7 separate regions of the Homo sapiens genome follow, and all the other regions are linked to region 7. The links are contacts of gene promoters, found by promoter capture Hi-C in blood cells and fetal thymus (Javierre and others, 2016). All regions are on one chromosome and are shown on one strand. The core of a region is centred on a gene start or on the middle of the fragment in contact, and the rest is flanking DNA. Distances in the headings are between cores, read along the strand shown.

Evidence for each region. Contacts are between HindIII fragments. The CHiCAGO score rates a contact against its expected background, and 5 or more counts as called.
Region 1: a contact is called between a fragment that was not itself captured here and the fragment with the promoter of PSMD7 in region 7, in 1 of 17 cell types (monocytes). The highest score is 5.4, in monocytes.
Region 2: a contact is called between a fragment that was not itself captured here and the fragment with the promoter of PSMD7 in region 7, in 1 of 17 cell types (M2 macrophages). The highest score is 7.1, in M2 macrophages.
Region 3: a contact is called between a fragment that was not itself captured here and the fragment with the promoter of PSMD7 in region 7, in 2 of 17 cell types (naive CD8 T cells and total CD4 T cells). The highest score is 5.5, in naive CD8 T cells.
Region 4: a contact is called between a fragment that was not itself captured here and the fragment with the promoter of PSMD7 in region 7, in 1 of 17 cell types (neutrophils). The highest score is 6.1, in neutrophils.
Region 5: the fragment with the promoter of AP1G1 here is called in contact with the fragment with the promoter of PSMD7 in region 7 in 11 of 17 cell types (fetal thymus, naive CD8 T cells, total CD8 T cells and 8 more); the score reaches 12.7 in fetal thymus.
Region 6: a contact is called between a fragment that was not itself captured here and the fragment with the promoter of PSMD7 in region 7, in 9 of 17 cell types (non-activated CD4 T cells, total CD4 T cells, total B cells and 6 more). The highest score is 9.4, in non-activated CD4 T cells.

Annotation. Positions count from the first base shown.
Region 1 is chr16:71,732,411-71,735,350 of GRCh38, forward strand. AP1G1 (adaptor related protein complex 1 subunit gamma 1) reads right to left here. Exons shown (of 23, transcript NM_001128.6): 22 at 2,199-2,297; 23 at 1-749. The coding sequence ends at 648. Among named protein-coding and RNA genes, the nearest start is that of PHLPP2, 9.2 kb to the left of the region's middle. The HindIII fragment of the contact is 1,215 bases long and covers 724-1,938 here.
Region 2 is chr16:72,044,103-72,046,902 of GRCh38, forward strand. No RefSeq gene overlaps it. Among named protein-coding and RNA genes, the nearest start is that of HP, 9.0 kb to the right of the region's middle. The HindIII fragment of the contact is 1,087 bases long and covers 777-1,863 here.
Region 3 is chr16:72,002,708-72,005,859 of GRCh38, forward strand. It overlaps the pseudogene ATP5F1AP3. Among named protein-coding and RNA genes, the nearest start is that of PKD1L3, 3.9 kb to the left of the region's middle. The HindIII fragment of the contact is 2,136 bases long and covers 197-2,332 here.
Region 4 is chr16:71,877,528-71,880,510 of GRCh38, forward strand. It overlaps ZNF821 (zinc finger protein 821), which reads right to left. Exons shown (of 8, transcript NM_001201552.2): 3 at 2,380-2,496. The coding sequence starts at 2,419. Among named protein-coding and RNA genes, the nearest start is that of ZNF821, 5.2 kb to the right of the region's middle. The HindIII fragment of the contact is 8,509 bases long and covers 1-2,983 here.
Region 5 is chr16:71,807,536-71,810,564 of GRCh38, forward strand. It overlaps AP1G1 (adaptor related protein complex 1 subunit gamma 1), which reads right to left and starts at 1,299. Exons shown (of 23, transcript NM_001128.6): 1 at 1,228-1,299. LOC124903714 (a long non-coding RNA gene) reads left to right here and starts at 1,423. Exons shown (of 2, transcript XR_007065110.1): 1 at 1,423-1,667. RefSeq lists enhancers at 430-1,077, 1,021-1,710, 2,271-2,350. The HindIII fragment of the contact is 17,673 bases long and covers 1,152-3,029 here.
Region 6 is chr16:72,080,760-72,083,674 of GRCh38, forward strand. No RefSeq gene overlaps it. Among named protein-coding and RNA genes, the nearest start is that of TXNL4B, 11 kb to the right of the region's middle. The HindIII fragment of the contact is 8,593 bases long and covers 1-2,915 here.
Region 7 is chr16:74,295,264-74,298,063 of GRCh38, forward strand. PSMD7 (proteasome 26S subunit, non-ATPase 7) reads left to right here and starts at 1,551. Exons shown (of 7, transcript NM_002811.5): 1 at 1,551-1,725. The coding sequence starts at 1,652. RefSeq lists enhancers at 784-1,675, 1,466-1,775, 1,676-2,565. The HindIII fragment of the contact is 3,645 bases long and covers 884-2,800 here.

The DNA.
Region 1 (2,940 bases), core at 81-2,580, 2.6 Mb before region 7:
GTCTGACCAGTTCTTGGTAACAAACATACATGTGTGTGTCTGTGTGTATACAGCAATGCACAGAAAAGGCTACCAGGAGCCTAATGCCTCTTTCAAACATTGGGGGAACCAGTAGAAAAAGGCAGGGCTCCCTAATGTCCATTATTACATTTCCATTCCGAATGCCAGATGTTAAAAGTGCCTGAAGATGGTAACCCAGCTAGTGAGGAATAAATACCCCACCTTGCCCAGTCCACAGAGAAACAACAGTAGAAAGAAGGGGCAACTCTTTGCTGCAGAGACAAAGTGAGTGTTTTTTCGCCATGGATTGCAGTCCTCTCCTCCAGACCAGCTGCTTATTTCCTCAGGGGCCCAGGGAATGTTGATTCTGGCTGTAAATGTGGGAGGGGTGGAGAAGTGCGGAAAAAGGAGAAGAGGAAGAGTGCAAAGTAGCCTCCAGAAGCAGCCAGCCTCAACAGTGGAGGAGAGGACATTAGTCTTTAACAATGCTTCAAGGTCAGCAGTAACTTTAGGAAAATCCTCCTCAGCAGTTCTCTTCAGCTCCTCATGCCCGTGGTACAGTTGGGGGGGACTTGCCAGCAATCACAACCTCCTTCCCAGAGTTCCTTTGATTGAGTGGGATAAAGAATGAGAATGGTGCCAAACCCTCATTGCCAGGACTGAGGGGGAAAGTTGTTCACCTCTGCTAGATCTTGCATTGCTGAGCCCTTGTGATTATATGTAAGCTTGATCCGCATTCGCAGCTGTTGCTATAAGAGGAAAAGAGAAGTGCAAATTATATACTGAAATGAAATCTCCAGAATCTGTCCGGTCCACAAATAGACTTTTAATCTTAGAGGTCAAAACTTAAAGCAAAGCTGTCTGTTAAGAATGACAGGTAAACAACAACAAAAAACACCCAGTACTCTAGGCTTGAGCCAAGAAGCTAACAATGTCATGCCACCAAGTTGAGAAAGCGCATCTGCAGAATACACGGTTAGCTTTAATCCTTGAACTGCATTAAAAGGACAGAACTCCTTGGGAGCATTTTTTCTTTTCTTTTCTTTTGAAACAGGGTTTTGTTCTTATTGCCCAGGCTGGAGTGCAGTGGCACAATCTTGGCTCACCGCCACACCAGACTAATATTTTTATTTTTAGTAGAGACGGGGTTTCACCATGTTGGCCAGGCTGGTCTTCAACTCCTGACCTCAGATAATACACCCACCTCAGCCTCCTAAAATGCTGGCATTACAGGCGTGAGCCACCATGGAGCATTCTCCTAGTAACATTTTGCTGAGTCCTTTTCAAAAAGATTCAAACCTTGTATCCAAGTCTCTTAAAAAATGAGGTGAACATATACTCATCGTACGCTCTCCATTCAGATACACTGTTGCTTTATCTGAAAAACCTACAGTAAATGTGAACATGACCTTTTGTTCCTAAAGCATAAAATTTTAAAAAATGACTTAACTCACAGGTAACAGCAGTAGTTTTAAGAGAACTCAATTAGACACTTTTTGTATGGCAGATTTCAAATACAAATGCACTAAGACATTTTTTACTCTCTGTATCAGATGGTCAAAGGAGTTTGTGCTTGTACTATAGAGGCCGATGCTCAAAATATAGTGAATAGCAGAGGAAAGGCAAGTGTTACAAGAGAAAGAAAGTATACTGTTACTTATGAGCAACTAGTAGAGCTCTATTAAAGAAATTCTCTGAACCATTTTCAAAAACTGAAAACCAACTGATTACTATTAAGGTGAGCTTATTTCTTTGAGAAGAGATAATAAAAATATTGCTTAATTTCAGTTTCTAAAGCTATTTTTCATTTGGCTGCTTCATTTAAAATGCCTCTATTTTTCTATTCATACTTAATAACTGTAGCAGTAAATGTAGGTATTTGGTTTCAACAAATGCTCTTACCTCAGATTTCAACTTGTGTATAAATTAAAATGTCTAAGCTTCTCCCCTACCCCCAAAAACCAGACCTTTAATCTAGCTTTTTTTGAAGTTGCATTTTAATAAGATGCCACTAAGCCACCTGATGTCTCTGGGTTCCATTTGTTATTTACAAAAGAGCAAGGAAGTTAGACCAGGCATTTTCATTGATCTCTTCTCTAACTATGAGTCAGAAAAACCTAAAGAAACAAAGCAGAATTTTATTTCGGGAAATATGCTTACACTTCGGCTCAGATATTGGCTACAAATGTGCTACTCACCTTCTGAGGGTTCAGAACTTTAATGACTTGTGTGATGGTCCCCGTGTTAAATGCTGGGACAATGCTGCTGCTAGGAGACAAGAGCTGCAGCTGGAATGTCTAGGGGGGAACAAAGGGCACTCTTCAGAAAAAGAATTACACAACGCTAGGTCAGAGATACCAAAAACCATTTAGACACCCAGATGATGGGTCAAGCAACAGATTTCACTACTACTAAGTTTTGCCTACTACTTGTTTTCTAGATATCAGGAATTCACAGCACGTGAGTTGACTCCCTGTGGTATTTGTAAAAATCCACTGTTCGGTTCTTTGATCATGACAACTAGTAATAAACCACATTCTCCTTTCTGGCAGAAGGAATTCTAGCCTACCTCTTTTCAAAAGCTGACCAATTCTTCTTCTGGCAACTTCACTTAATGGTAACTGATCAACTATGCAAGTAAAATATCGGTGCTTTTGGCTTAAAAAACAGCCAGAAAGAAATGAAAAGAAAAGCTTCCCAAAAATAGCAAACCAACATACTGGTCACCAACTATAAGCTTTTAGGCTTTTGTGTGATTGGATAACTGGGATGCAGAGACTTGAACTTTTGTTTTTTAAAGCCTGCATAATCTATAATGTGTCAGAGCCTCCTCTCCACATGACAGAAGGAACGGAAAGACTTGCAGAACCAGCCTATACAGCAAAAGACCTAGATAAGCCAAACAGTATTAATTTGTTGAATGCTGGTGGGGTTTATTTG
Region 2 (2,800 bases), core at 70-2,569, 2.3 Mb before region 7:
GAACAAGTTCCTTATCCTCTCTGTGCCCCATTTATAAAAAACGGGATTATTAGATAATAAAAAGACCCAATGCTTATGGGCTGTTGAAGAATTAAATGAGTAAATACACAGAAAGCACATAGCACAGTGCCTGGCACACAGAACCCTCCCAATGTTACCTGTTATTACTAGGAGTTGACTGGCTTTTCTCCTAAAGTACCTGCAGGGCTGGTTCTGCGGACAGCTTTTATGCTTCTGAGGGCTGGATCTTCTCCACTGCAGACAGAAGATGACAATACAGGCATTACTTACTCGTGTTACAGTTTTTATTTCTGCCCCTATTCTGAACTCTTTGAAGGCAGAGGCTATGTTTATCCCCCATTCAATTCAACCAACCGGACTGAGCCTCTGTTGTATGCCAGGCATTGCTGGGCCATGGAGATAAGGGTGAATGAAAAAACACCGACTTGGTCCTACCTTGTTTCCTGGGACCCATCCCACAAACGTGGTAGGTTGAAGAAATTAAGGAAGGTTGATATGAATTCTTTTGAATATAGAGTCAGTTTTTACACTCGTACTAATATCCTCATGCCTTTGACATCTGACCAGTTTCATGCTGGGAAAGGCAGCATTTCTTTGTAAGTTTTGACAGGCTGTGTGGGTTTCCCACCTTGGTTGGCTGTCTTTGCTGACAGGAAGCTGGTCTGAGGATAATATTTGATTTAGCAGCCTGGATCTTGGAAGTTCCTCATTTACAAACTGTCAGGGATGATCCTACTTTTAAGAAGCTCTTAAAAAGCTTAAAATATCAATGTGTATGGTACAAAATATCAATATGTGTGTCTGCCAGTGGCTCAGTTTTGGAGAAGAGAATTGCTGACCGTAAGGCAGTGCAACTGGGAAGCAATGCCTATGTTCCAGGCACCGTGGGACCCTGTAGCCCCTGGTCCTGGTGACTGTGAAAAAAAGGAGAAATTCTAGAAATAGGTGTAATCATGTGAATGTCTTTGTTTAATTTTCTTATCAAGATAAACTGCAATTCTGAACAACATGTGCTGTTCTGAATTCAACAGTCCACTCTCCATTCTGTTTGAAGGTCATGTATACTCTTGTGAAAATCCAGGGTTCTCATTTCATGGCTACTGAGGTATTTATTCCTATACTATTTAAATCAATTAAAAAATATCATTTACAATAACATAAACATCAAATGCTTAAGAATAAATCTAATGAAAGAGGTGCCAGAGGTCTGTATCAATATGAACAAGGCATTAAAATTAAAGACAGCCTAAATAAATGAAGAGAGATGCTACGTGCATTACTCGAAAGACTCAACAGAGTCAAGATGTCAACTCTCCCCAAAGTGATCTGGAGATTCAATGTAATCCCAATAAAAATCCCATCAGGACATTTTGTGAGAATTGGAAAGTTGATTTTAAAATTTACATAAAATGGAAAAGACCTAGAATAGTCAAGACAAACTCTGAAAGAAAATAAAGTTGGAACACTTATAATACCAGATAGCAAGATTTAGTATAAAGTTCCCATTATTGGCCAGGTGTGGAGGCTCATGCCTGTAATGCCAGCACTTTAGGAAGCTGAGGTGGGTGGATCACTTGAGCCCAAGAGTTCAAGTCCAGCCTGGTCAACATGGCAAAACCACATCTCTACAACTACAACAACAACAAGTTGGCTGTGTGTGGTTGCGCATACCTGTAGTCTCAGTTACCTGTGAGGCTGAGGTGGGAGGATTGTTGGAGATCATTGTTGAGGCTGCAGATTGTGTCCCTGCACTCCTGCCTGGGGGACAGTGAGACCCTGTCTCAAAAAAAGTTCCCATTTGTGAACCCCCAAAATTTGAGACAGGTTTCGGTTAATTTAGAAAGCTTATTTTGCCAAGGTTGAGGACGCACACCCAACACAACCTCAGGAGGTCCTGATATATGTCCAAGGCGGTCAGAGCACAGTTTGGTTTTATACATTTTAGGGAGACCTGAGACATCAATCAACATACGTAAGATGAACACTGGTTCCGTCCGCAGAGGCGGGACAAGTCTCAAAGCCAGGAGGGGGCTTCCAGGTCATAGGTAGATAAGAGACAAATGGTTACATTCTTTTGAGGTTCTGATGAGCCTCTCCAAAAGAGGCAAAAGGATATGCATTTATCTCAGTGAGCAGAGGGGTGGCATTGAATAGAATGGGAGGCAGGTTTGCCCTAAGCAGTTCTCTGCTTCACTTTTCCCTTTAGCTTAGTGATTCTGGGGGTTTAAGATAGTTTCCTTTCACACATTATTATTATTATTATTATTATTATTATTTATTTTTTTATTTTTATTTTTTGAGACAGAATCTCGTTCTGTCGCCCAGGCTGGAGTGCAGTGGCGCGATCTCAGCTCACTGCAACTTCCGCCTTCCGGGTTCAAGCGATTCCCCTGCCTCAGCCTCCGAGTAGCTGGGACTACAGGCGCCCGCCACCATGCCCAGCTAATTTTTTGTACTTTAGTAGGGATGGGGTTTCACCATGTTGGCCAGAATGATCTCGATCTCCTGACCTCGTGATCCACCCGCCTCGGCCTCCCAAAATGCTGGGATTACAGGCGTGAGCCACCGCACCCAACCTCCTTTCACACATTATTAAGACAGTATGACAATGGCTCCAGATTAGACAAATAGACTAATGGAAAAGAATAGAGGATTCAGGAGGAGGCCAACACATATATAATCACCTGATGTATAATAAAGATACCACTGGAATTCAGGGACAAAGGATGGTCATTTTAGCAAATAATACTGGATCGATTGCATGCCTATATGGAAAAAA
Region 3 (3,152 bases), core at 15-2,514, 2.3 Mb before region 7:
CAAATGCCAGAATAAAGGGCTTGCAGTTTATTTGGAAGGTTTCTGAGCAGAGTAGTCCACCCTTTCAAGAGTTTGTGACAATGGAATCATCTGGATGTGGGATGCTTTTGTTTTCAAAGTTCACAGAGCCTCAACTTCTAAACATCTTCATATACATACATAAATAAATGCATGATACATCCACACATATGTTTCAAGCTTTTTTTCCAGATTAAAAAATGATACTTTATTATAATTTTTAAAATTGCAGAACGTCAGGCTGAATATCATTAGACACATACACAAAACCACTCATCTCTAAAGTCATCTTCTATACCCTCTCAAAATTTGGCCAATGAATTATGCCTCAGGGAATTTTCCAGTTCAACCCCATACATAAATGGAAACACTAGCCTTTTGGTTTTGCCCACAGTTCCAAAGTGCTATTACAGGTGGAGTATCTGCTGCAGGAGGTCATTCTTGCTGCTGTGGGTGTGAGTAAAATGTCTATCTGTATGCCTCTGGTCCTGCAGGCTTTGTTCTCTTTCTCCTTGTTTGGTCTCCTTCTACAGGGGTTACCTTACATACTGCAATCAAAAGACATCTTCTGCTCGGAATCAAAACAGATAGTGAGAGGTTCAAGTGAGAAGTAATGTTACATAGTAAGTTACTGAATTTACAATGAGAAATTGAACTCTGGGGTTACAACTCAAATATGATTTCAAGGTAAAGAAAATAATTACTTGGCTGGCTGGTGAAATGCTTAGTTCCTTCTAAAATCATAATTGCAATATGGACTTCTGCTTCATGCTGCATTCCAAGGCACCAATCAGGTAACCTACATCTCCCAAATGATCAACAGAGCGTTCCTTCCTATTTTACCCTCAGTGCTGAGAAATTACTCCTGAGCCCAGAAGTTGTTGTGTAGGTGACTTGGGTGACTTGGTGCCCAGGCAACAACTGCCACAGGCCCCACCTTGATGAACACCATTGATTTCTTTAAATATGATGATACTAAGATGGAGGCCCCTGCTCAGAGGAAGCAAGGACGTAAAAGCCAGGACAGGCTGCGCTGAGGGTCACTACACTAACAGACCCAGACGACACGATGGAACGTGAATACTGAAGCCAACAATCTTCTGGAACTCTCTTTTCCAAAACTCATATGCTGTTTTTTCTAATTGGGAAATCAGGGACAGGGAAACATTCGCATAATTACCCACCAACATGTTCTTCTTAACAGAAATGAAGATTATTATTATTTTTTTTTTGAGACAGACTGTTGCTTTGTCGCCCAGGCTCGAGTTCAGTGGCGCAATCTCAGCTCACTGCAAGCTCCGCCTCCCGGGTTCACGCCATTCTCCTGCCTCAGCCTCCCGAGTAGCTGGGACTACAGGCGCCTGCCACCACGCCCGGCTAATTTTTTGTATTTTTAGTAGAGACGGGGTTTCACCGTGTTAGCCAGGATGGTCTCGATCTCCTGACCTCGTGATCCGCCCTCCTCAGCCTCCCAAAGTGCTGGGATTACAGACATGAGCCATCGTGCCCGGCTCCACTTTGGTTTTTTCTAATCGGTTCAGGATCTCATTTACTTTCTTCTCCATTGTCACAATTTTTACATCCTTCTGCCTGTGAAAGCCTATCTGCCTCACATCCACGTCAGCTGTTTTCTTCAGGTTAGACCGTGGAGTATTTACCACATTAACGTTGTTCTTGCAGCCTTGAGTGCTATTGGCCTTCACAAGGTGGGCGCAGTCTGTCAGCACTTCCTTTGGAATGTCCTCTATATTCTCTCCCTTATGCAATTGAAGGTATACATGAGCCAAAGAGAGTCTGTCCGCACGAAACCAGATATATTCAGGCCAGCCATGCTTCATCAGATCTTCATGATGATTTATGGGTTAGTAGGAGAGATATAAAACTCAAGGGCCGGGCGCGGTGGCTCATGCCTGTAATCCCAGCACTTTGGGAGGCTGAGGTGGGCGGATCACGAGGTCAGGAGATTGAGACCATTCTGGCCAAAATGGTGAAACCCTGTCTCTATTTCATATTTATCCTTTCCCATGTAAATAGCGCAGGCAGATGAATTAACGCTGCTGCTGGTGAAGTAGAACACCATGATGCTGGCGGGGGTGCGGTGACTCCACCGTGGAGCAGCAGCGTTCAACTGTGGCGGTTGCCTGGTCCCCGGAACTCTCCTCTTTTTTTTTTTTTTAATGCATTATGGAAACTTTTTTATGTGATTTTTGTACATAAGGAATATGAGAGTAACTCTTTTACAAATGAAACTAATTTACTAGAACAAACAGTGACAAAACTGAACTGATATTTGATGTGAATCCATAGGAGTTTAAGCTTCAAATCCAGCCAAGAAATTTGTTACAACTCCATCAGCTTTGCATCTGAGTCTTCTGAGATCTTTCCATCAGCCCTGATAGTGCCCAACAGGGCTTAGCGCTGGCTGACAACATGAGACAAGAAAGCATTCTCAAACTTTGTAATCTTGCTGGGCTCCAGTTTATCAAGATACCCCCTTACACCCGCACAGATAACAGCCACTTGTTGTTCAGTAACCATGGGAGGATACTGTCCTTGCTTCAGCAACTCAGTTAGACGCACACCGCGACTCAATAGTTGTTGAGTGGGAGCATTGAGGTCAGAACCAAACTGGGCAAAAGCAGCAACCTCACGATCCTGAGCCAATTCCAGCTTCATGGTACCTGCCGCCTGCTTCATAGTCCTGGTTTGGGCAGCAGATCCAACACAAGACACAGACAGACCCAATGTTAATGGCAGAGCGGATATCTTTGTAGAACAATTCTGTTTCCAAGATCTGTCTGTCAGTGATGGAAATGACATTTGTTGGAATGTAAGCAGACACATCATCGGCCTGTGTTTCTATGACTAGCAAAGCAGTCAAGGAGCCACCACCAAAAGCATCATTCATTTTGGCTGCTCTCTCCAGCAACCGGGAGTATAGGTAAAACACATCACCAGGACAGGCCTTACGACCAGGGGGGTCGGTGGAGCAACAGAGACATCTGACAGTAAGCGACAGCCTGTTTGGATAAGTCGTCATAGATGATCAAAGTATATTTGCCATCGTCTCTAAAATACTCTCCCATGGAACAGTCAGAGTAAGGAGCCAGGTACTGAAGTAGGGCAGCATCTGA
Region 4 (2,983 bases), core at 479-2,978, 2.4 Mb before region 7:
GGGATTACAGTGGTGAGCCACTGCGCCCAGCCTATATAGCATGTTTTTAAGAAATTTTAGTTATCTTGTCAATTACTTGACTAATCTGTCCTCTCCAATGTAGGGTTTTAGCCAGCTGCAGTGGCTCATGCCTATAATCCCAGCACTTTGGGAGGCTGAGGTGGGTAGGTCACTTGAGCTCAGGAGTTCAAGACCAGCCTGGGCAACATGGTGAAACCCCGTCTCTACAAAAAATACAAATATTTAGCCGGGCGTGGTGGCATGCACCTGTAGTCCCAGCTACTCGGGAGGCTGAGGTGGGAGGATCGCTTGAGCCCAGGAGGTCGAGGTTGCAGTGAGCTGAGATCACGCCACTGCACTCCAGCCTGGGCAACAGAGCAACACCTCATCTCAAAAAAAAATTATATATATTATATAAAAAAATAAAATATATATAAATATATATGTATATATATTTTATATATATATACACACATATATAGGTTTTTTGTTTTTTACAAACTTTTCATCTGTTATACCTCTGAATTCTCTTCAAATGTTGCTGCACTTTACTCAAACAGTTCATAATAATAGGGAACTATTTGTCTTTTTTTTTTTTTTTTTGATGGAGTCTATGTTTGCCCAGGCTGGAGTCAGTGACACGATCTTGGCTCACTGCAACCTCCACCTCCCAGGTTCAAGTGATTCTCCTGCCTCAGCCTCCCAAGTAGAGTAGCTGGGATTATAGGTGCCTGCCACCATGCCTGGTTAATTTTTTTTGTATTTTTAGTGGAGATGAGTTTTTTGCCACGTTGGCCAGACTGGTCTCCAACTCCTTACCCCAGGTGATATGGCCCACCTCGGCCTCCCAAAGTGCTGGGATTACAGGTGCAAGCCACCGCGCCCGGCCACTATTTGTCTTTTTAACGAACATTTGGGTGGGAACGATTATCTTCCCAGATAATAGGAAAATGGCTAATTATCTCAAATCTGTGTAGATATTAATGTCAATTTAAGAAGGCACTTTTTGAACACCTTCTATGAGTAGTGCTAGAAGTAAAGAGGATACATAAGGAAATACATATGGCACATAGTCTCTGCCTTCTAGAAGTTTACTATGCAATTACTGAAATAAAATATGCAACAGGTGCGGTGGCTCATGCCTGTAATCCCAGCACTTTGGGAGCCCGAGGTGGCCAGATCACCTGAGGTCAGGAGTTCAAGGCCAGCCTCGCCAACATGGTGAAACCCTGTCTCTACTAAAAATACAAAAAAATTAGCTGGGCATGGTGGCGAGCACCTTAATCCCAGCTACTCGGCAGGTTGCAGCAGGAGAATTGCTTGAAGCCAGGAGGCCGATGTTGCAGAGATCACACTGCTACACTCCAGCCTGGGTGACAGAGCGAGACTCTGTCTCAAAAAAAAAAAAAAAAGCAAAGAAAAACATGCATGTGACACTGTTGAAAACAACACAAGGTAATAGTGTATACTTGGCCTTCTGGTTTCTAGCCTCTCCCTCTTGTGATCCATCCCACAAATTGCTTCATAGTACCAAAACGCTGTATTCTAAATGTCACTCCCCTCTCCCTGCTTAAAAACCTTCAGTAGTTCCCTACGGACTATAGAATGAACTTTGAACTTGGCCTGGCATTCAGCCTTCCACGTGTAGAGTTAAGCATCTCTAACCTCACATCTTCTGACTTTTGAACAAATGAGACCTCTGCTTCATATAAAGTCTCCTTGTCCTCTGAACATGTGGATTCCCGCTTCTGTCTTTGCTCACTTCACTTTCCCTACCTGATGTTCCCTCTCCCTGCCTCTTGTTTTTTAATTTTTTTTTTCAAATCCATTTTCTACCCTCTAAGGCCCAGTTCAGGCGCATGGTCTAGAGGCTTTTCCATTAAGCATTCCCCTTGCTACTTCAGTCCACTGAGCTCTTTTAACTTCCTTCCTCCGAACTTCTCTAGTACATACAGTCTGCAGCATCTGTTTGGCAATTAGCATATACTATCATTCATATTTATATATCTGAGGTTACAATACGGTCTTATAGATCTTATATTGGTTTAGAGCCCTGACATCTAGCACAAGGATCTGCAGAGAGTAGGTATCCTATAACTGTTTGTTAATGTGATATTAAAGATATATCAAGTGTACATACCCCTAAGATAGGTTTCCAACACCTCCCCCAGCAACCAGACACACTTTAAATCCACCATTTCCAACATTTTTAACCCTTTTTCTTTCTTTCTTTTTTTCTCTTCTGCTCAGCAAACTGTGTTTTACATTTAAACTTTTCTTCTTCACAAATTAGCGTGAGCTTCTCCCCTAAATTCAGGTTACTCTTCCATTCCACCCCTTAGCATTCCCAGGTTCCAGAAGACAAAGCCCGATACTCACAGTGAACTTTATTTGGATTTGTCTGTTTCCGACGGGACATGTTTCCCTGATGCAAGAGCTCTGGTCTTTCCCAGTTTCACGACTGGATATGTTACTACCTCCTTGCAAGATGCTAACCTGCAATAAAAAAGGTTATTGTTAGCACATGTCATTTTCCCCAGCAGTTACACAAAATTTAAAGATAAAATGTCCTTAAAAAACAGCTCCTGAGCATATAAAACTCACCAGTTATAAATAATTGAACTAATGAAAGAAAGAAAGAAATGAATAAATCTCTAGCCTAACGTCAAGGTCCCAGAAAGTTTAAGAGGGGACTCCCTCAGAGGACTTAGAGAATTATACTCTAAATCCATCTTTGGAATCCAGAATACTGTTAAGTGATCATGATCAAGGTCACAGGATAAAAGAGGAAGTAAAACTCAGGCATCCAGGGTTAGAAGTACTGTGGGCTCAAGGGGATAACTCCGATGAATTGCAAAAGGAAGCAAAAGGAAGCCAAAGAGGGTGGCAGCTCACATGTCACATGCCCACTGGAAGTCAAGCCCTGCAGTCTACACCAGCGGATTTTTCATGATGTTATCTTGCCTAGAGGTAGCAAAGGCAT
Region 5 (3,029 bases), core at 49-2,548, 2.5 Mb before region 7:
TCATATTTTTCAAACGTGAAAGTTAGGGTGTGTGACAAGTTAGGTATTTGACAAGTATTCTAGGGAACGGTGGAAGTGAATATTTAAAATTCAGCTATCCCCAGAAAAACCCAATACATGAAATCATTACAAGTATTTTTTAGAATCAGTCAGCAAAGATCATTACTGTACAAACACTTCAAAGTTAAGGTCACTAAGAAAGCACTAACTCCTCCCTTCTGTTAACTAATCACTGTAAAGCAGCCCAACTCTCCTTTCTACCTACCTCAGATTAATATTTTTCTCCATGGACAGATTTCCGTGCTCAGGGATATATAATAGGGGAGAAAAAAAAATACCACACAAGTGTCAGTAAGCACCAAAAAGCTAAGTATTCAGCACAGGGAGGGAATCCACATATGAGAAAACATTTGACAGCTCTTGCCTCCCAAAAGCCATTTAATCTGCTTCATAAACATAATCTGCTTCATAAACATTACCCTGAGCGAGTGGTTCGATGGATCTCCTACACCGAGTCCTAACCGGGAAACACAATCAACCGAACCGTCCCGACTCTTTCAGGCAATCAGGAAGACCGGGAGAATTATTAGACGCTGACGTCCGCAGGGCCAGGAGCTGAGAAAAGGGTAAACAGTATACTCGCAGGTAGGTTGAAAAAAACAAAACAACAACATATACACACACACACGAAAAATTGGGAAAGAAGTTGGTCGGAAGGTTAGAGAGAGGCGAGGCCGATGTCCGGTTCCGAGAGGACGGCACTGCAGGGGCAGGCAGCGATTAACTGGGCATTTGGATATGCTGGGAGTTATCTGACAGACCTGACACGGGTACAAGACACAAGAACGCTGATACGTGGCTCAGAGAAGACACGCGGGGGTGGGGCCCGCCCCGCTAAACCCCAGGCTCCCTGAATGAGCCCTCAAAGATCGCAGCCTGAGAAAGTCAAGGGTTCAAGGAGGCCCGTACCGGCGGGGCAACGCCACAACACGGAACGCCGCGGCGCGCGGAACCTCCCGGTCCGAGGCCTCGGGGTCGGCCCTCCAGAAGTCGGAGCAGCCCCTGGGGCTCCCGGCCTCTCCTGGCCCAGCTTCTCTGTCTTCTCTTCTCAACACCCACAGCCTGGGACTGGACCCCTGAAACTGAAAGGAAGCTTCCGGTCGAGCGCCCGCGGCAGCGGCGGGGCAAAAGCAGCAATATGCTCTCAGCGCCGGGAGTGACACTCACCGGCCCGAAACCTCGAATGAAACCAGCAGCTCCGGGGGCGGCGGCAGCAGTGGCAGCAGGAACCGAACATCCAAAATGGCGGCTCCCTCGGCCTCACCACCGCTACCGCAGGCGGAGGGATCCTGAGGAAGGAGGGAGTTTTTAACTAACTTCACACACTATTGAGGAAACTTCGCTCCCTGTCCTCCTCTCCTGGTCGTTTCCGTGTCCTCGTACTGCAACTTATCGTGCCTTTTCTCTCGAATTATCCAAGAACTCGGACCCTGCCGAGGACTATTTGCCAAGGAGGAGGCGACTGCTCCTGGCAGAGCGACGCAAACGTAGCAAGGATCGGGGCTGTCACTGATGACGCGAGACGCTGCTGCCGAGTCACCGCTGCGATGAGTCTGAGCGAGAAAGATCCGGCCTACCCCGTAGCGGACGGACATTGGTTCCGCTTGGTGAGGGGGTAGGGGGGTGGGGGGTAGGGGGGTGGGGGGGTAGGGGGGGTGGAGCTGGGCTACCAGGAAGCGGTGGAGCCACCTGGAGGGGGCGGAGCTAAGTCAGGTAGCCCAGGAAGTGAGAGCAAGCGAGACAGGTGGGGGCGGAGAAGACAGCAGGGCTGAAAAGGTCTTCGTCCACGGGAATCCCGAACTCTTTGCTGTCTCCTTTAAGATTTTTGCTTTCTTTATAACTTAAGGAGCATGCTCCAGGTGGTATTCTATGGTTTTATGGTGTCTTTGCAACATATTTTATGAAGAGTTAAGAGGATGACTGAAAAGAATGGATTCCACGCCCGGTACCGCGGTGCTTGCACTGCTCAAGTCACTTAAACTCTCCAGGGATTCAATTTCCTCATATGTAGAAAGAAGACTTGGACTCATGTTAGCTGAAACCCTTACAGAATGGGCTTTCGGTCTATGACTCCATGAATTAATAACCAGGGCCAAAGAAAGTCTAACCAGACAGTTCCTAACCTGATAAATAATTACTAACATATGACGTGAGTCTTTTCCATGTGAATGTAAAGAGGGCCTGATATCTTGGCCTGTTTAAAGGAAAGGTGACCTACCTAGACTAAAATCCTTCTGCTAGATTGGCAACAAAGTACAATACAACACAGCAGCAGGCTGGGTGCCAAAGAGAACAGAACCAACCACACAAAAAAAATTTTTTTTTTTTTTTTGAGACAAAGTCTCGCTCTGTTGCCCAGGCTGGAGTGCAGTGGCGGGATCCCGGCTCACTACAACCTTGCCTCCCGGGGTCAAGCAATTTCTCGTGCTTCAGCCTCGCAAGTAGCTGGGATTACAGGCTCCCGCCACCACGGCCGTCTAATATTTGCATTTTTAGTAGAGAGAGGGTTTCGCCATGTTGGCCAGGCTGGTCTTGAACTCCTGACCTCAGGTGATCTGCCTGCGTCGGCCTCCCAAAGTGTGGAGATGACAGGTGTGAGCCACCGGCCTGGCCAGAACTAACCACAAATCTTGAGTTTAGGATTTGGGTGTCATAGAGAGAAGGTTGCACTTTTTTCCTTAGTCATTTTCATGCAGGGATTTCAAAACACTTAACAAAAATTGCTCTAAGTAGGCCGGGCACAGTGGCTGACGCATGTAATCCCAGTACTTTAGGAGGCCGGGGTGGGCGGATCACCTGAGGTCAGGAGTTCGAGACCAGACTGGCCAACATGGTGAAACTCCATCTCCACTAAAAATACAAAATTAGCCGGGCATGGTGGTGGGCACCTGTAATCCCAGCTACTCGGAAGGCTGAGACAGGAGAATCGCTTGAACCTGGGAGGCAGAGGTTGCAGATAGCCGAGTCTG
Region 6 (2,915 bases), core at 398-2,897, 2.2 Mb before region 7:
TCCAAATATGCTTTTGGAGTGGCCCATACCTTTGGGAAGATTTGGACTGAACAAGGCCTTATTACTAGCAAGGGCCAAAACCTTGTCCACAAAGAGTTAATCATGCAAGTATTAGAAAACCTTCAGCTACCAGAGGACATAGCCATTGTTCATGTCCCAGGACACCATAAAGGTCTCTCTTTCAAGAGTTACTTCCCAAGAAGCACCCATTTTCCACTGAACCCCTTGTCTCCCTTCCCCATCTGCAACCCCCATCTTCTCCCAAGCAGACAAAGAAAAATTAAAGAAAATAGGGGCTAACAAAAACTCAGAAGAGAAACGGATACTGCCAGATAACAAAGAAATGTTGTCCAAACCCCTAATGACAGAAATCTTAACACAACTTCACCAAGGGACCCATTGGGGTCCCCAAGCCATGTGTGATGCAGTCCTTAGAACCTATGGGTGTACAGGGATTTATACCCTCACCAGGCAAGTCACAGACAGTTGTATGGTATGCAGAAAAACCAATAAACAAACTTTAAGAAAACTGCCCTTCGGCGGAAGAAATCCTGGGCTAAGGCCATTCCAAAGTGTCCAAATTGACTTATACCGAAATGCCCCAAATAGGCTGCCTCAAATGTTTGTCAGTTATAGTGGACCATCTCACTCACTGGGTGGAAGCCATTCACCTGCCAAGTGCAACTGCCAATAATGTAGTTAAAGTACTAATAGAAGATACCATACCCAGATTCAGATTAATAGAGAACATTGACTCAGACAATGGAACCCATTTTACTGCACAGGTCATTAAAGGATTAACCCAGACACTAGAGATAAAATGGGAATATCATACTCCCTGGCACCCACCCTCATCAGGAAAAGCAGAAAGAATGAATCAAAATAAATAAATCACCTAACTAAACTAATCTTGGAAACCCGACTGCCATGAACTAAGTACCTCCCTGTCGCCTTACTAAGAATTCGTATCGCCCCTTGAAAAGATATCGGCCTGTCCCCTTATGAAACGCTCTACAGATTGCCATGCTTAAATTCCACCACTGACATCCCTACATTTGAAACAAAACATCAATTTCTTAAAAACTATATACGTGGTCTATCTTCCACCCTTTTTTCCCTCAGGACCCAAGGCCTCTTAGCACAAATGCCGCCTCTAGAGTTTCCAGTACACCCACATCAGCCTGGGGATTATGTGCTCATCAAAAGCTGGAGGGAGGAAAACTCGAACCATCGTGGGAAGGACCCTATCTAATACTCCTAACAACTGAAACAGCAGCCCGAACGGCTGAACAGGGGTGGACTCATCACACTTGGGTAAAAAGGACCCCACCCCTTATGGAATCATGGACCATCACTCCAGGACCAACTCCCTCAAAATTAACATTCAAAAAGGTCTAATTTGTCTCTTCTTCCCCCTAATTGCCCAGGGGCATTTCATTTTTTTTTTTTTTTGAGATGGAGTCTCGCTCTGTTGCCCAGGCTGGAGTGCAGTGGCAAGATCTCCACTCACTGCAAGCTCTGCCTCCTGGGTTCACACCATTCTCCTGCCTCAGCCTCCCGAGTAGCTGGGACTACAGGTGCCTGCCACCATGCCCGGCTAATTTTTTGTATTTTTAGTAGAGACGGGGTTTCACAGTGTTAGCCAGGATGGTTGATCTCCTGACCTTGTGAACTGCCCGCCTCGGCCTCCCAAAGTCCTGGGATTACAGGCATGAGTCACCGTGCCCAGCCCGCATTTCATTGTTAATGTAACCAGGTCAGCCTCCCCTCAAGCTGTTGTGTTTGATGCTTGCCTAGTCATACCTTGCAGAGACCTACAAAGTCAAAGGCAACTAGCCTCTTCAGAAAAGTATCTTTGCCCTTGGTACTCACCCCACCCTCAATCTGATCCTTGCAAGATTCCCTATAATTGGCTACCTTGCCATTCCTGGTACGATATTCTCTGGACCACTCAGTCCCAAGGCTGGACTTCTTCAGCAGGCTGCACCTCCCTAAAACCTTATATCCATTTTACTAAACAAAATAACTCCTCTAACTGCCAACACCTCCGATGTAACCTGGTGCATATTTCTATTACTACTTCAACCTCCACTAACCATATTCCCACCCTAAGTCGCTTTTATGGTATGGGGCAGATGTTAGCGGGAAAGACCCCATAGGGTCCTTTGAGATTCGTTTTGTCGCCCCTCCAGCACCCCTTCCTTCCCGAAGATCTCCTCCAAATGAAACAACTATCTTGCCACTACCTAATGACAAAACTAAAGTGCACATAGTGGAAGTCAAAGACCTAAAACAAACCCTGGCCATCGAGACCGGACACCAAGAAATGAATGCCTGGCTGAAATGGATCAAATATTCAGTTTGCACTTTAAATAAAAGCGACTGTTATGCCTGTGCAATGGGCAGGCCAGAAATCCAAATAGTTCCCTTCCTGCTTGGATGGTCTAACCAACCGGGCATGGACTGTACAGTAGCTCTCTTCCAGCACCCCACAGCCTGGGGTAATAAGTCATGCACCAGTCTCTCACTGCTTTTCCCAAAAGTCAAAGACTTCCCTGTGGGTCAGCCCCCAAGGGCCATCTGGCTCCTGGCCTCTGATGCCAATTTTACCTCTTGTCTCTCATGACGGGGAAAACTTACATCTTTCAGGAATCTAACGGGATGCAGTGAATCCGAGCCTTTTCGAGAGCTCACCAATCAGACTGCCCTTGTCTATCCACAAGCAGATGTTTGGTGGTATTGTGGAGGACCTCTACTGGGTATGCTGCCAAATAATTGGAGCAGCACTTGCACTCTAATCCAACTGGCCATCTCTTTCACCCTGGCATTTCATCAGTCCGACAAAAAGTCACCCTCTTGGGAAGAAAGAGAAGCTCCTCAAGGGTCTTTTGACCCCCATGTCTATATAGAGGCAA
Region 7 (2,800 bases), core at 301-2,800:
TTAACACAGCATGGGCCTCACCTGAAAGCTTGTTAGAAGCTCAGAATTTCAGGTCCCATCTCAGACCTACAGAATCAGAATCTGAATTTTAACAAGGTCCCCTGGTGATTTGTAAGCATATCAAAGTTTGAGAAGCATTAATTAAAAGGATTAAATATTTGCGTCTGAACCAGGGCTGGCATATTATAGGCACTCAATAGATTCAATAATTCTTAGTTTTCTTTCCCCATTAACATAACCCTTATATCTTTCTAGTTATAATTAAGAATGAATGGCCAGGCACAGTAGCTCACACCTGTAATCCCAGCAGTTTGGGAGGCTGAGGTGGGAGGATTGCTTGAGGCTGGGGGTTTAAGACCAGCTTGGACAACATAGTGAGACACCAACTGTACCAAAAAAAAAAATGAAAAAATAAAGATAGCATTGAGTCTCTTCAATTAATTATGAATATTAAGCATATCCTGCCATTTACTTCCTTGCAGATCTAGCAGAAAATCTGAAAATAAAGCCAAGTTGCAGACAGAAGACAAAGATAAATTCACATGCAGACAAATTCAAACTCCTGACTACATTAATGTCTCTCATTGGTGGCCAAATTTCAGTCTAATCTTTGCTAATGTTTTTCACCACCCACAAATAAGAGAGACTGAGTGTGTCCCTTGACATTTGGAGATCAGGAAGTCCACCTTAAAAAGACAAGAGGCCAAAATGTTGGGAAAATCCTCTGGTGATAAAGGGAAAGCAAAAATTGTTTAAAAACAGAACAAAATATAAGTAAATAATTCAGGTTGCTTAAGTACTGTTTTCGTTTACAGAAACAGCAACTTCAAATGAGACGATATAAACCTGTATGATTTTTCTTATAATTTGCCTCCTGCAAATAAGCTTAAGTCTTTGTCTACCTTAGTCTTCTCTTTCCTAGCTACATATCACAACATACTTCCTTACTGCCTTCCTTCCGTCTTTTCTTCAACGCTTCTGTAAATTTTGATTTCAAAAGCAACGGCACAATTGCGTTCTTCTAGCCCTAGTTACGCAGTAATATAACGACAGGTGGAAACCTGCAGGTTGCCACGTTCATTGCAAAGTGTCCACAGTAAAGATAAAGGAGAAATTCCCCCGGCAATGAAAACGAGAATGAGATAAATTACCAAATTACATTAAAAGCGTGCTCTTATGTTAGAGATTTAAAGTTCCTCTCAGAAATCGCGGAGGATTTTGACCTGAAGCAAAAGTGAACTTCTTCCGGGTGGTAGAAAAGTAAACTGTCAACTATTTACTTTGGGGGGGTGGCGGGGGGAGGGTGCTGGGAAGGAATTGAGGCGAAAAGCCTCTGCAGGTGACGGTACAGGCCAATACCAGGAGGTCAAGTCGCCGGTGTCCCTTCGGCCCTTAAGTCCAGGGAAACGCACGGCGAGGGACGAGGGGCGATTCCCGCCTTTCTCCAGCCCTTTCTCCGCCCACAAATGACGGCGGTGGCGAAGATCCGGGCCCGCCGCGCGAGGCACTCTGGGAGCGGAAGAAGGAGGCCGCGCGAGGGCTGACGAACCGGAAGAAGAGGAACTGGGCCTGAAAGGGTACCGGTGACCGCTACTGCTGCCGGTGTTTGCGTGTGGCAGGGAGCCAGGCCTGGCGAGCGGGGTGTGTCGCGATGCCGGAGCTGGCAGTGCAGAAGGTGGTGGTCCACCCCCTGGTGCTGCTCAGTGTGGTGGATCATTTCAACCGGTGAGCGAGCGCCCTATAGCTGGGCCGGCGGCGCAGCCGCTGCTGAGTCACGGGCACGCTGGAGATGGCGCGGCGGCCGCGGACGAGCTGGGGACGCAGATAGGGCGGCTGGTGACCCTTACTTGTTCACGAGTCCAGACCAGCGTCGGCTCACGATGCCGGAGTCATCCAGCCTCCCGCCCCTGCCCCAGCCGCCGCCACTTCGGGGCCTTGGCTGCCTGTTCCGTTTAGCCTGTTTGTTTTACAGAGTTCCCTTTCCGAGTTCGTTTTGCCGAAGTTCGTTTTACCGAAATCTGGATGATGCTGGGGGTCGGGAGATGCGGCTAGCTTTAGTTGGCCCTGACCCCCGCCCCCAAGCTCGTGTCTGTCACTTCGTTTTGAAGTTCGTTTTGCCGAAATCTGGATAAAGCCAGGGTGGGGCGGAGGCGGGCTAGCTTCATTTGGCTCTGACCCCCGACCCCAGGGTCGTATCTTCATTTGACTCAGTTGATTTCACTGAAATGTGAATAATGCAAAGTGACTGATGTCTGGATGATGCTTGGGTGGGGCGGAGTGGGCTAGCTCCATTTAGCCCCGCCCCAAGGCTATGTTTATCTTCGTTTGACCGAATTGGTTTCACCGAAATATGGATGATGCTGGAGTGGGGTGCAGGGTGGCTACCTTCATTTGGCCCTGACCCCGGCCCCAGGGTCGTATTTATGTTTATCCTCGTTTAACCAAGTTGATTTCACCGAAATGTGAATGATGCAAAGTGAATGATGCCTGGATGATGCCGGAGTGGGGCTAAGGGGGCTAGCTTCAATTTGGCCCTGACCCCCGCCCCCAGGGTCGTATCTATGTTTGTCTTCATTTGACCGAGTTCCTGTTATCGAAATCTGGATGATGCTCAGCACCCCGAAGGGCTTCCTGGATCAGCTGTGGTTTTAACCCATTAACATTTTTAAATGGGAATCTGATTAGACTCCGTCTCAAAAAAAAAAATGTATATATAGATGAGGTTTCAGTTTTTATTTAAAACACGAGGCCGAGCATGGTGGCTCACGCCTGTAATCCCAGCATTTTGGGAGGCTGAGAC